3 separate regions of the Homo sapiens genome follow, and all the other regions are linked to region 1. The links are contacts of gene promoters, found by promoter capture Hi-C in human tissues and cell types (Jung and others, 2019). All regions are on one chromosome and are shown on one strand. The core of a region is centred on a gene start or on the middle of the fragment in contact, and the rest is flanking DNA. Distances in the headings are between cores, read along the strand shown.

What was found. The method cuts DNA at HindIII sites, captures the fragments that hold promoters and counts their contacts. A contact is called where the count stands out against the background at its distance.
Region 2: a fragment that was not itself captured here is called in contact with the fragment with the promoter of PBK in region 1 in 2 of the 25 tissues and cell types used here (dorsolateral prefrontal cortex and mesenchymal stem cells).
Region 3: a fragment that was not itself captured here is called in contact with the fragment with the promoter of PBK in region 1 in 2 of the 25 tissues and cell types used here (H1 embryonic stem cells and thymus).

The regions. Positions count from the first base shown.
Region 1 is chr8:27,835,629-27,840,119 of GRCh38, forward strand. It overlaps PBK (PDZ binding kinase), which reads right to left and starts at 2,189. Exons shown (of 8, transcript NM_018492.4): 1 at 2,024-2,189. It also overlaps the pseudogene LOC100130612. RefSeq lists enhancers at 2,299-2,358, 2,429-2,478. The HindIII fragment of the contact is 7,721 bases long and covers 1-4,491 here.
Region 2 is chr8:27,964,080-27,968,630 of GRCh38, forward strand. SCARA5 (scavenger receptor class A member 5) reads right to left here. Exons shown (of 9, transcript NM_173833.6): 3 at 2,335-2,463. Among named protein-coding and RNA genes, the nearest start is that of SCARA5, 26 kb to the right of the region's middle. The HindIII fragment of the contact is 8,201 bases long and covers 1-4,551 here.
Region 3 is chr8:28,040,916-28,045,278 of GRCh38, forward strand. NUGGC (nuclear GTPase, germinal center associated) reads right to left here. Exons shown (of 19, transcript NM_001010906.2): 13 at 136-300. Among named protein-coding and RNA genes, the nearest start is that of NUGGC, 41 kb to the right of the region's middle. The HindIII fragment of the contact is 4,477 bases long and covers 1-3,834 here.

The DNA of each region.
Region 1 (4,491 bases), core at 939-3,438:
GCAACCTCTGCCTCCCAGGTTCAAGCAATTCTCCTGCCTCAGCCTCCCAAGTAGCTGGGATTATAGGCATGTGCCACCATGCCCGGCTAATTTTTTGTATTTAGTAGAGATGGGGTTTCACCATATTGGTCAGGCTGGCCTCAAACGTGACCTTAGGTGATCCACCCGCCTTGGCCTCCCAGAGTGCTGGGATTACAGGCGTGAGCCACCACATCCAGCTTCTTCTAAGATTTCTATCTACCTATGTGAAGCTACTCTTCATTCACTCAGTCAATATGCACACACTGAGCACATACAATGTGCTCTAACAGTGCACTGTTCGAGCACATACCATGTGCTCTAACAGTGCACTGTTCTACACTCTGGAAATAGAGCAGCAAACAAGACCCAAACAAGTATGAAGATAAACATATACTATTTCAGGGGAAATATATATCAGTGAAGGGAGCAGAAGGCCTTGGGAAGGGGCTTAATATTTGAGTTTAAAGTGGTCAAGAAAGGTCTCCTTGAGAAACTCATTTGAAGGAAGTGAGGGAGCAGGCCCAAGCAAGTATCTAGTGAAAGTCTTCCAGAGAGAGGACAAGAAATACAAAGACCTGAGGCAGAAATCTTCACGAAGAGGCGAGCTAGCAAGGGGGAGAATGAGACAAAGTCAGGGAGGCTGAGGGTAGGGACTGGCAAGTCAAGTAGAGCATTGTAGCCACAGGACTGTGACTTCTACTCAACTGTAGTCACAGTCAAGATTTCAGCTTGTACTGAGAAACAGAAAGCTGTTGGAGAGTTTTGTGGAGGAGTCAAATAGGTGGGTGGATACGGATCTAGAATGCAAGCTGAAGATTTAAGTTTGTGGGATGGCAGCACGCAGACGTTATTAAAGCCAAGAGACTAGGTAAGATCATCTAGGGAGTAACTGTAGAGAGAAGAGGGGTGAGCCCTAGGGCATCCAAGCATGAGAAATGAAAAACAAAGCAACCAAGGAGGTGCCAACAAAGTAGGATGCAGAAAACCCTGGCGCGTAGAGTGTCCTGGAAATCTTATGATGAGCCTTATGAGTCTCACTGCCTTTTCCCGCTCACTCTACGGAGGATTTGATATTCAGAAGCAGCACGTTTTAAAAAAGAAAACCTATCTCTAAAAACAACTAGGTTTAAACAGAAGTCGTAACATTTCATTATGTTCTCTTACGACTGAGTCCCACCTTCTACTCTAAGCTATTTGCACCTCAATGTACCATGTCCTATCCATTTCACAGTTGTCTGAGGGCCACTTTTTTCCAGACTGCACACTCAGGTTTAGGCATTAACTGCTGACAGATAGCTTTTGGCCAGTAGCCCAGACTCTGCTTCAGATTATGTTATGTATTGTATATGCATTCTTAACATTAATTGTTAAATAACCATACTAATTCTAAATCACAAGGTTCTCATGAAGATGACAGCAAAAAAAACAGTGAATATTTAGATGAAGATAAATTAGAAATGGCAGTAGGATGACCGTGAGCAGAATTTCATACTCTGTGGAATACGTAAGATATTTTTAACAATCAAGTACTGTTTAAGAGGCAGCATTAAAGTGAGCAGCGCTCAAGCAAGCTAATCTACAGATTTACCGGGTCAAACGTCAGTGACCTTTGGGCCCTAAGCCTGGGACCCTGGGACTCAACAAATACCTGGACACTACTGACAAAGCTACGACGCGGACGGGCAGCAGAAAACGGAAAATTAAAAGAATGAGAGAAAAAGTAAAGGAGAAAAGAGAAACAAAGTAGATGTAGAAACTCCAAGGGGAAGCAAAGAGAAAGTGTGGGCCGCATGACTCTCAGGTCCTCTGCATCTCACACGCTCAGCAGGGTTCGGGGGTGGAGGTCAGACTGTTTACCCCAATCCAGGGGCTCACAAGGGGCTGGCTGCCAAAATCCTTCTTTGGCTGTAACCAGATCCTCCCCTGTCACGAAAGCCCCCGCAGAGGCCTCGGCTCCGGGCTCGGCCCCCGCCAGGGCTCGCAAAAAAAAAGCTCCTCTTACCAGAGTCTCACCGCCTGGAAGGAAAGGTCGGAGGTGAAAATAAGTCGTGGCCAAGTACCTCTTCAAAATTGGTCCCGAGCGGCCCCCAGCGAGACCCTGCAGCTGCCTCTAGCACCAACACATACGCCCGGCAGCTGCCGTTGCAATTCGAACCCTCCTGGCTTTCAAAAAGTCGCGCGCTGCGCCAGCTTCGGCCCCGAGCTACGGGGCGGCGTGAAGGACACGCCCCGCCGATTCGCCGTTCCTCCTCCCTCTCCCAGGACTCCCGGTGCCCGCAGGCGCCAAAGACGAGGGAAGGAAGGAAAGGCGCGGGGAGCACAAACTTTTACAGGAACCACCAGCCCTTCCGAGGAGCACAGCCCGGTGAATAGAACACAGTTGCCTGTGCTGAAGGCTGAAGCTCTCTCCAAACGCTCACATCTGTGTTGAATGTGTCGTGATTATGACGTCAATTTTATTATAGGTTTATGAGGCCTTGAAACACTGTAAAGACAAATGCGTAGCTTAAGGAACAATCATCTTTAGCCGAGGGAAAAAAAAGATATTTAGAAATGTTGCTAACTCATGTAATTGCCACATTCAATTCAACATTCTTTAATTTATTCAACGATTATTTAGGAACATCTGCTCCCCAGGAGGGGATGGGCCGTGGGGCAGACCAGGGGCCCAGAGCTCAGGGCAGGGGGTACCGCTTGTGGGGCCGCTCATTTCTGTTTCGAGGTACACCAAGGGTTAGAAAAACCACAGTAAGCAAAGAACTTGCATCAAGATCGGGACTGGAATCCATTAATGTAGGTGACAAAGCCCCGCAACTCTGATCAGGGCTTCTCCCCAGGAAGATGTGCCCTGAGGCATCCCCCGAGGATGGCGCAGGTCCTGAGGGTCGTGGGGATCAAAGAATATGAGCCAAGACGTATAAATCACATGTTGGAGTTTGCCTTCCCCTATGTGACCACAGTTCTGGATGATGCAAAAATTTACTCAAGCCATGCTAAGAAAGCTACTGGTGTGCAATTGCAATCCAGTGTGCGCCGACCAGTTTTTTTTTACCTCTCCGCCCCAAGAGATTTTTATTAGATATTGCAAGGCAAAGAAATCAAACCCCTTCGCCTTTGATCAAGCCGTATTCAAGTCCTAGAATGCCACCCAATAGATATTGCTTAACAGCTCCAAACTATATGTTGCAGGGAAAACCCCAAAACTAGGGTACAGCCACAGAGGCCACCTGGCTTGGAGCAGGAAGGAATTCGAGAGCAGCCCCATAGAGTAAAATGAGAGCAAGTTTATTAAGAAAGTAAAGGAATAAGAGTGGCTACTCCACAGGCAGAGCAGCCTGGAGGGCTGCAGATGGGCTATTTTTACCGTTATTTCTTGATCATATGCTAGATAGAGGATGGATTATTCATGAGTTTTACAAGAAGGCCCTGGGGATTTTCTGGAACTGAGGGTTCCTCCTCCTTTTAGACCATGTAGGGTAATAAGTTCCCCGGGTTGCCATAGCATTTGTAAACCGTCATGGCACTCAGGGGGAGTGTCTTTCGGCAGCTAAATCATTATAATTAGCCTGTAATGAGCAGTGAGGATGACCAGAGGTCATCCACTAGTGGATTTCAGTCTCAATCTTGATCCGGGTTCTTTGCCTGGAGTGGTTTTTCCAACCCTGGTGTGCCAGGAAAGGGAACGCTGAGTGGCCCCCTATGGGGTGCCCTCTTGGTTTTGGTGGGTTTGGGCCACCCTCTTTACTGCATCTGTTTTATCAGTGGGGGTCTTTGTGACCTCTATCTTGTGAAATCAGTCCTGCCAAACTTCTGTCTCATACATACAGGCTTAAGTCTTTACAGAAAAAGGCATCTACGTCTGAGGGAAGAATAACAGTCCCCATGATATCAGTGGGCCAGGGGAGGTCCTCAAATGCCGGTGGGTCCTGGACCCCCGCAGGTGTCCAGACTCTTGACACCGTCTTGAGAATGGATTCAAGGATGAGTTGGAAAATAGTGAAAGTATGGAGATTTGTTGCAAAGGGAAAAAGTACACACTTAAGAAAGGGGATTGCGGGCGTACTCAAGAGAGTCACACAGTGGGGTGTGCGGTTTCTCTCTGTATGGGTTTCTTCAACCAAGGGGTGGAATATTTATGACAATTCTTGGAAAAAGATGGAGATTTCTTGGAACTGTGGTGCCACTCGTTTTTACACCAAATATGGGTGTTCCCAGAACTGTCATTGCGCTGGTGGGTGTGATTTAGTGTGTTAATGAGCATATAATGAGGTCCTAGGTGAAACCTAGGTCAAATCCAGCACCACTTTGGGTCTAGTTGGTCTTAGCCAGCTTGGTGCACACCCTGTTTTTCAGGGGTTCATCAGCCCATAACCCCTACTCATGGGAAACTGCTGTCTGGAGTTTTTATTCTCCTGTGAACACCCTGCATTATTTCTGTCTCACCCAGATTAAATGTTGGTTCAGTTACTA
Region 2 (4,551 bases), core at 1,192-3,691, 130 kb after region 1:
GTATCTCTGAGAAGGAGCATCGCTGAGGTCTTCAATCAGGCAATCTTAAGAAACCTCTCTAAGATCAGACAGAGCCTCCTTAAAGAACCTCAGACTTGTCCACCATCTTGCCAAGTCCCTTTCCTATGCTGCCCTCACCAAACCTCCCCCAGAGGCCAGCATGATTCTCCAGACAAGAATCTGGGGAGGTAAGAGCGGCCACACACCCAGGGCCAAGAGATCAGGTACGACATTGTTGCACCAGCTCCGTCCCAATCCACCCCAAATTTTTGTTCAACACAGGCAATGTGGTACCCAGAAACTTCAGGTTCTAAGATAATTATAATGATCAGAAAAATGCTGGAACAATTAAGGAGGTATGGCAACATTTCTATTAGATTGGGAAACCATGTTCCACCCTCCTTTCTGAAGCTTCCAGGACATTATTATAAACCTCATTCAATCTCCAAGCCAGGAGAAAGCCTTTTTTTCATCATACTGGACGGCACTACTTGTTAGCAAACTGTCCTTTATTTTGAATGGAAATCTGTCTCCTAATAACATCCACCTGTTGGTCCTAGCTCTGCCTTCTGGGGTCACATAGAGTATGTCTACCCTTTCCACATGGCAGCCATCCAGACACCAGAAGAGAACCGTCACTCCACTGCAAGTCTTCTCTTCCCCAAGAGACGATGCCCTTCCAGGACCTCCAGAGGCCTGCCCCAAACCCCCCACCAGCCTGGTCCCTCTCCTCCAGACCCCCATCTGTCACCTAAAAGTTCCTGTTCTGCAGAGCTTTTCTGTATCTGTCACCTAAAAGTCCCTGTTCTGGTTTCCTGTTGGGCTGGAATGCTTTCTGAACATTCCAGAAATTTGTTATGGTCCTCGCAGCCAAACCCACAAAACTCAGATCCCAAGCTCTCACCAAGCAGCCCGAGAACATGTTCAAATCCTCCTCTGGCCCACTCGGCCTGCGAGGGACCCTGCTGGCCCCTGTCCTCTGGTCCCAGGGATGAATAATGAGGTTCTCTCGTTGTTGCTGTTGGCTGCCCCTCAGGTTGCTCATTGATGGGACAGACTCCACCCCAATGTCTTTGCCCTGAGTGTGGAAACCTGAAGGCTCAGGCAGCATTGAACACCCCATTACATCACCCAACTGACTAGTCCCGCTTGACGGAAAGTGAATCAAGACCGGGGAGGTCCTGGCCATTTGCCTCAAAATTTCCAGCAAAAGGTCATCTATCTGTAAGGGCTGGACCTCCAGATTCCTGCCCTGGGCTTCACCCGAGGGCCCCTCCCTCAGTGCTCCAAGTCAGCTCGGCCTGGCCAGCAGCCTCGCTCCCACCAACTCCACCTGCTTCATGCAGCAGCCGCACCTCCCTCTATGTGCCTGCTCTGTCACCATCGCATTGGGCTACACCCCATCACAGTGCCCGCTGCATTCTGCCTTGAGGCAGGGCTCTATCTGCATGACCCCCTCAGTTCCTAGGCTGGGAGCTCCTTGAGAGAAGCCCCTGGGTCCTATTTAGCTGTGCCCCCAATCTTAGCATGGAGCCTGCTGCAAGGCAGGTACTCATGTGAGACATGTTGGGTGGAAATAAACTGATCTCTCAGCCTTACTTGCGTCCAGTCCTACCTACCTCCACTGAGAAAGGTGGGAACTGAGCAGCCCTTCCTTTCAAAGGGAGTCAGGAGAAGACCACTACAGCCATCTGCTTCACCATCTGTCTTCATAGGGACTACCTATAGATGATGAGCTGGGCTGCTCACAGCTTGGGGCCAACAGGCTCCTGTTCCATCCCTTCTTGAGTCCATGAGCTCTCCTTCTCCATGGCTGGAGAACATGCTAGCCCTAGCCCATCGCCTGCCCATCTCAAAAGATAGAAATTGGTAAGGAGAGCCTGGCTGAATTGGGGCAAACCCATTCTACCTACAGTAACTGCAAAGGGCAGCAGGTTTACCAGGAAGCAAAGTGCCTCACAACTATTTTCATGGCACCCCAGGACCAGAAGCTTAGACAACGCCCAGCCTTCTCAGAGCAAACCATACCCCAGAGGCCCAGGGAGGCCCAGTGTAATGCACAATGCCCCACAATGATGCAGGAAAAGTCAGAAGCCACTCCAAGCAGCTAGGTCTCTACTGCTGGTCTCTTTGATTCCACAAGCTCACATAGCCCCTGCCAGCTACTCCCACGCAAAACAAGCAATACTACTGAAGAGCTTCTTCCTTCTTCCTCTATGGTTTCCATGGTGACAAGGGCAGTGTTTGGGCTCATGACAGTGGGAATGAAGAGTGGAAGCTCCAGGTCTTCCTTCCTCATCCCAAAAGACCAGGACAAAAATGGCCTGCTCTTACCTGCTAAGATGAAGATGCCCACAAGAATCAGGAAGACCAGCAGGTAGAGCCCCAGGACAGCATGCTTCAGGGCCGACAGGGACCCCAGCTGGGTACAGCAGATGCTTGCCCGCCGTTTGTGACATGGACCTGGACAATAAGGGTAAGAGGAGGAAGGAAAGAAGACACTTAAAAACCCCATAAGCTCTTTTCTTTTTTGGTCTCATCTCTCCCTGATGCATGCAGATGTTCATGTTGAACTTCTCACATCCCTTTTGCATGTCTAGAATGCAGCCACTTGATGGGGAGCTTTCCAGGACCATCACATTCAGCCTCTAGCTCTCCTCCCACTCTCTGTGTTCATGATCAAGCCAGATCACATGTCCACAGCTCACATGCTCACAAAAACCAACTCTTCTTGAGCTAGTCCAAGCAGCAGAAAGACCTTGAAATAGTCTTGGATATGTGGCTTTAAAAAGTGTCATTGTCCCATGGGATCCAGGGAACATAAAGAGAAATTAAAACAGGAGTTGCAAACTCAAACTTCTACAGTGGCTGGGAAGGTATGGGAATGAGAGAAATGGGCCCAGTGGGACTGTGGGGAGGCCAACGGCACGTGCCTGCTCTGGCAGAGGCTACTATGCAGGGATGAGTGGTGGGTGTGGCCAGATCCAGAATTTTCTACATCTATTTTTAAGGGTTGGCAACTAATTCATCAAACACAAAACACTGGGGAGTGTAAACAAAACACATCTGTAAGCCAGTTCTGACCAGCTTGCAACCTTGCATTTAGATTTGCTAGAAAACATGGTAACCTCATCCTGTGACACTCCTCAGCTTCTGCTCAAAATGGAACAGGGAAATATCCTTGCTGTAGTGGCCTTTTGGGCCATGTAATTCAACCCCTTTGTTGTACAGATAAAGAATGTCAAATGTCAGTTAGCAGCAAATCCGGCCCCAGGACCCAGGTTGATCTTTTAGCTGAACTGGTCCTTCAAGGTGGCCTTCTCAGATGGCCCATGAAGAGGCTTACTGATCTCCAGCTGCTCTGTTGACTGGAAGTGGAAAGAAGGGATCCTCTCCCTGATGTTAGCAGGGCATGTAGGAATCACTGGGTGGGGGCGGCGGGGGGACGGCATTTTTTTAAAAAATGCTTATCCCTTTAATGCTTGTTCCTTACCCCCTGTGGGTAAGACCCCTCTCCAGAAGGACTGTCCCCACTTCAAGAGTGTCACTAAGGCCAGGCACGGTGGCTCACACCTGTAATCCCAGCACTGTGGGAGGCCAAGGTGGGTGGATCACTTGAGGTCAGGAATTCGACACCAGCCTGGCCAATATGGTGAAACCCTGTCTCTACTAAAAATACAAAAATTAGCTGGGCGTGGTGTCGCGTGCTTGTAATCCCAGCTACTTGGGAGGCTGAGGCAGGACAATCACTTGAACCCAGGAAGCAGAGGTTGCAGTGAGCTGAGATCACGCCACTGCACTCCAGCCTGGGTGTCACAGTAAGACTGTCAAAGGAAAGGAAAGGAAAAAGGAAAGGAGAGGAGAGGAGTGTCACTAACTGGAGTGGGCAGAAAAAGGTTGTCAAGAGAGGCTAAAATAATTGATATTTAGAAAACATCCTGAAGGATAGTACCATGTTTGCAATTCCTTCATAGGTTCCCATTTGCAAGGATACCTCAAAGGTTACATATCGCCTCCCAGGTATCATTACTACCTCCTTGGCCTCAGGAGGTTTTATGACCACAAGGAAAATGGTGGTGACTATTGGTACCTTACGATCCACACTGCCCTGGTCCCCCAGAGGTATTGTTATATAAGGAACATTTTCTCACTCATTGACTTCATTTTATTACAAATACTGCTGTTAAACCAGCTAAACAGAGCTATTACATAATATTTCCATAAGACATTGGGTGCAGTGTCGAGCAAGTTGTCAATGACTATTCTCACTCATCCTTACATTAGCAAGTTTTGAAGAGTTGAGCTGATTTTCCGCTAAGACAAAATAGAGCACATCTTTCTAACTCACCCTAAACCTTTTCTGGGATTTTCCATCCTTTACCATACACTAGGCTCTACAAAGGGTTTTGCTCCTAAATATGTAGGCTCCTGGTAGCATTTCTTTTATTTTTTTCCTTCTGGTGAGAGCCACTAGCTGTCTGGTTGCAACTTACCAGAGAAAACTCTGTTCCTCTCAAGAGTCAGAGTAGGAGGTATAGCATTGAATAATAT
Region 3 (4,363 bases), core at 346-2,845, 200 kb after region 1:
ATTACAGGCATGAGCCGCCATGCCCGGCCCGCTAACTCTTTACCTCTTTTGAAGGGAATGGGATGATGCAAAAGAAGCTTGGGGATCGGGCAGGCCTCCTGGAATATCTGAGTTTTCCCTGGAAGGGTCACTCACCACCAAGCATGCTCTGAGGATGCAGCGGTAAGAAGTCCTGGCGGTCCTGACCCCTTCTTGCAGAGGCTGCTCCATGCAGGCGAAGCACTGTGCGATGGCCTTCTCCAGCAGCTCAACCTTCTCTTCCGCAAATCTCCGCAGGACACTCATGTGCAAGTGTTCATTCTAGGGACAAGGACCATAAAAGAATCAGGCCACCCCCTCCCTAAGGGCACCTTCTCCTGAAGCTTTGCTTTCTTTAAGCTTGTCACCAGCTCAAGATTCAGCTTATCACTCAGAGCTGACTTCTCTTTATTGTCCCCATAAGACCTCACTCAGTGCACAGACCCCTTTAGGCTTTGTGGGGTTAGAGAATAGAACAAATACCTGCCTGGTGCAACTTATTTCATTTCTTAAAAATCACAGTCTCTGCTTATTCAGCAACTTATTTCAGCTGTGTAATCCATCAGGTTATTTGGGGAAGTAGCTATCCACATAGAAATCCAATTGTTATTAAAACAGATTTTTCCAATGACATCTGATTCAACAAACATTTCACGGGCTTGGACTCTGCACGAAGGAGTTTTTAAGGATAATGCTTCTTAAATTTTAACATGCATACAAATCAACAGGAGATCTTAAAATCTGAAATCCAAGGTCCTGGGATTCTGCATTTCTAGCCAGTCCTCAAGTAATGCTGGTCTTCCGAGCTATGGACCACACTTTGCATAGCAAAGCTACAGGACCACAAAAATAAATCCATGCTTCCTTCTTCAAAGAATACAGTCTAATCAGGGAGAAAACATATATTCAAATAATACAAGGAAGTGACCACCAGAGAAAGCCTTGACCCCTAGGTGCCTGATATGGTTTGCTGTGTACCCACCCAAATATCATTTTGAATTGTAGCTCCCATAATTCCACGTGTTGTGGGGGGGACCTGGTGGGAGATAATTGAATCATGGGATTGGCTTTCCCCATACTGTTCTCATGGTAGTGAATGAGTCTCATGAGATCTGATGGTTTTATAAGGAGAAACCTTATAAAACCTTATAAAACATGCCACCATGTAAGACATGCCTTTTGCCCACAATGATTGTGAGGCCTCCCCAGGCACATGGAACTGTGAGTCCATTAAACCTCATTTTCTCTATAAATTACCCAGTCTCGGGTATGTCTTTATCAGCAGCATGAAAATGGACTAATACAGTTCCAGACTGGGAACTCATAGTGTTGTTCCCCACATGGGAACCTTGGTGGGCCCCACAGTGCCTGCAGCAGTCAGAGCCACACTCCCCAGCTTGGCCTTTAAGGCACCTCATAGCCAGAACTCACTCCACCTCTCTAGCACCACCATCTCTGTTTGCCTGACACATCCTGCCAAGTAGCTACCCCTGGACTTGCTGCTATTCCCCAAACATGCTGTCAATCTTGTGCCCTCTGGGCCTTGCTGATTTCATCTTTGTTACTTCGGAGACAAAGCTCAAAGGTCCTTCCCATGAGGCACCTTCCCTGAGTCCCCAGGTAGAGGTGGGGCTCTCTGTCCTGTGCTCCCACTGCACTTCCCACAGTCCTGCACCACAGCACGTCTCCTGCCTCCTGCCGTATGACATCTCTCTCGTTCCCTGTGTCTTCTTCCCTGGATAGGAACTTGCCAAAGGAGCAGGCTCTTAGTCATGCTCTTTTATTCCAGGGCACAGCACAGAGAGCAAAACCCATAGACATTTGTGGATTGAACGAGTGGCCCAGAGAAACTGCGAGATAATTTGGGCTTTTAAATTCTATTTCAAATAGACAGAAATAGCTCTCGAATCGATGTGTGACCTGATACAGGTGATTTAACTTCTCTGATTCTCAACGGTATCATCTTTAAGTGAATTGGGTTGAATGATCTTGAAAACAACCTCACACTCTAAAATGCTGTGAATCTTGGAGTAAATACGTTTTAGAGTTTATGGAGACTGTTTAGCATTCGGTGCACCCCGGGAATTTCCCTCATTTTCACCATTAAGAATTCTACAAAGCATTTTTCCCAGGACATCCTTTAGATTCTTTTGAATTTGTGGTGTCACCAGTGATGAAAATGAAAGAAGAAAGAAGTCATGGAAAGAAAAGCTATGGGCATGATTCTCACAATGCCTCACTCTCGATAAATCCTTGTTGGATAAACAAAAGAATGATAAGAAAGGGAAGAGCGGAGAATAAAAGAACAATAAGAAACAAAGAAGCTGGCACTTAGTATGAATAAACGCAGACTTCATTTGACATTGAGATGTGGTCCTCAACTTCCTATGGATTCTTAAAAATAATGATTGCTCATTTAAAATCACTACTCAAACTCCAAATTTTTGGTTTCAGTGATCATCTTTGAAAAAAAATCAATCACACACATATTTAGATTTGATTTTTCAGAATTCAAAGGAACTGACAAATTCTTGCCTTCCAACTTTCTATCAAAGAGCTAAGAGTAAGACCAATACCTAAGGCCAAGGAATTTTGAGCAAAGTTGCCAGCAACTCCCTAACATAGCTATTGCAGAATTGCCAGTCAGCCCCCTTCTCCTCTATGTTTTCCACTGCTTGGAGTCTGGCTGCAAGGGTGAATCTGAGCCCCTCTGAGCTCTGCACTTCCATATTAGCAAAGAAAACACGTGGGGTGGGCACTTCTGGCCTTGATGGCAAAATGCCTTGTCCTAATGTTTGTAAAATACACCAACCTCACACAGCCCACATCGGATTCATTTTCCATCAGCACTTCCAAAAGCAATCTTGTGCTGGGCAAAGAGACAAATTTCACCCTGAAGAACTGTTTTGGGAAATTGGAAGGTCAAACCCTTCCCCAACGATTTCAGCGGACAAAGTCAAATAAGAAAATCTCAGATTCCAAGAGTTTTGTTTTGTTTTTGTCTTGTACAACTAGACCAAAACAAGTCATAAGAAATAGATTTAAAAAAGATTGAATTTTGCTCTATATGCCCCTTTTATGCAGAAGAAAGACCCCACACCACTAAAGACTTTTTACAAGCATTTATACACAACCAAAGGCTCCAGGTGGCACTGCTTACTCCCACATGGAAGTCAGGTCTCGAGTGTCTGCCTCCCCTTGCCACCCCACAGGGTCATCATTGGCCCACCTTCCCCATCGTGAGGACCAGCTCCTCGACCACTCACAAAGCCCTATTCATGTACTTCCTCTACCCCTTCCCTGTTCCGGCATAACAAGAAGACAAACATCTTGACTGTGCACATCTGACGGGTGAAGGCAAGTGTGCAAATAAGTGAAAACCAACCAAATGAGGACAAGCAGAGGCTGTTTATTCACAGCTCACTACAGCAACAGAGTCAGCCACCATCATTTGAGTTCAGCAGAGACTCAAAAGCAGGCAGGGGAGTGGAAAAGCTTCATGGTGGACAAAAGGAAAGGCTTCGGGGTGCCCTGATTGGAGGCTGTTGGCCTGGGGACACTAAAGACGGGCTAGCTAAAAGCAGAGCAGCCAATGTGGTTGGTTAGGCATAGACATTTGGTTTTCCCGGTTGGTAGTAAGTTGGAAGCAGGAACAGAGATTAGGGAAGTTATTCATCAAGTCCCGGCCATCTGGTGCTGATTGTTACAGAGTTATTCTTTAGCCTCCTGGGTTGTTATTAGAGATAGCAGTTTGACTTCCTGAAGTCTGACTTACAGACAGAAGGCTTCCTGGGCTGTTTATTGTAGATAAGAGGTTGGTTTCTGGGCAGGTGGCTGCAGGTTGTGGTCAGAGATCTATTTTTACACACGGTCCAGCAATTGTCTTTGCATATTCTATCTCTCATAAGGAGACAACACAGCTGGTGACTGACGACAGTAAGAGGTTTTTCTCCAAAACCCCCCAAGTCTCTAATCTAGCAGCTTATCCCTCTTATTTTAGGGTTAAAAAGAAACCATCCATGAAAGAGATAAATATGTCAATTACTATGAGAAAAGTAATTTTAACTACTTTTTCAGAAGGCCTGCATTCTTGCCAGTGAAGATAACTATTGAAACTCTACTGAAATTCCCTCCAAGCTTCCATCCTCTCACATTATTTTCCTGTGCTCTTCTGAGCTTGAGATTCTGACAGCACCAGAGACAGATGAAATATTTTTGGACTGTATACATAAACACGCCTCTCCAGGGTAACCAAGAAGTGTCTATATTCCACTAGAAGCAAGCCAAATCACGCCTGCCATCGCTTAAACACATTCCACCTTGTTCGAGTCTCAGGAGAGTTGGA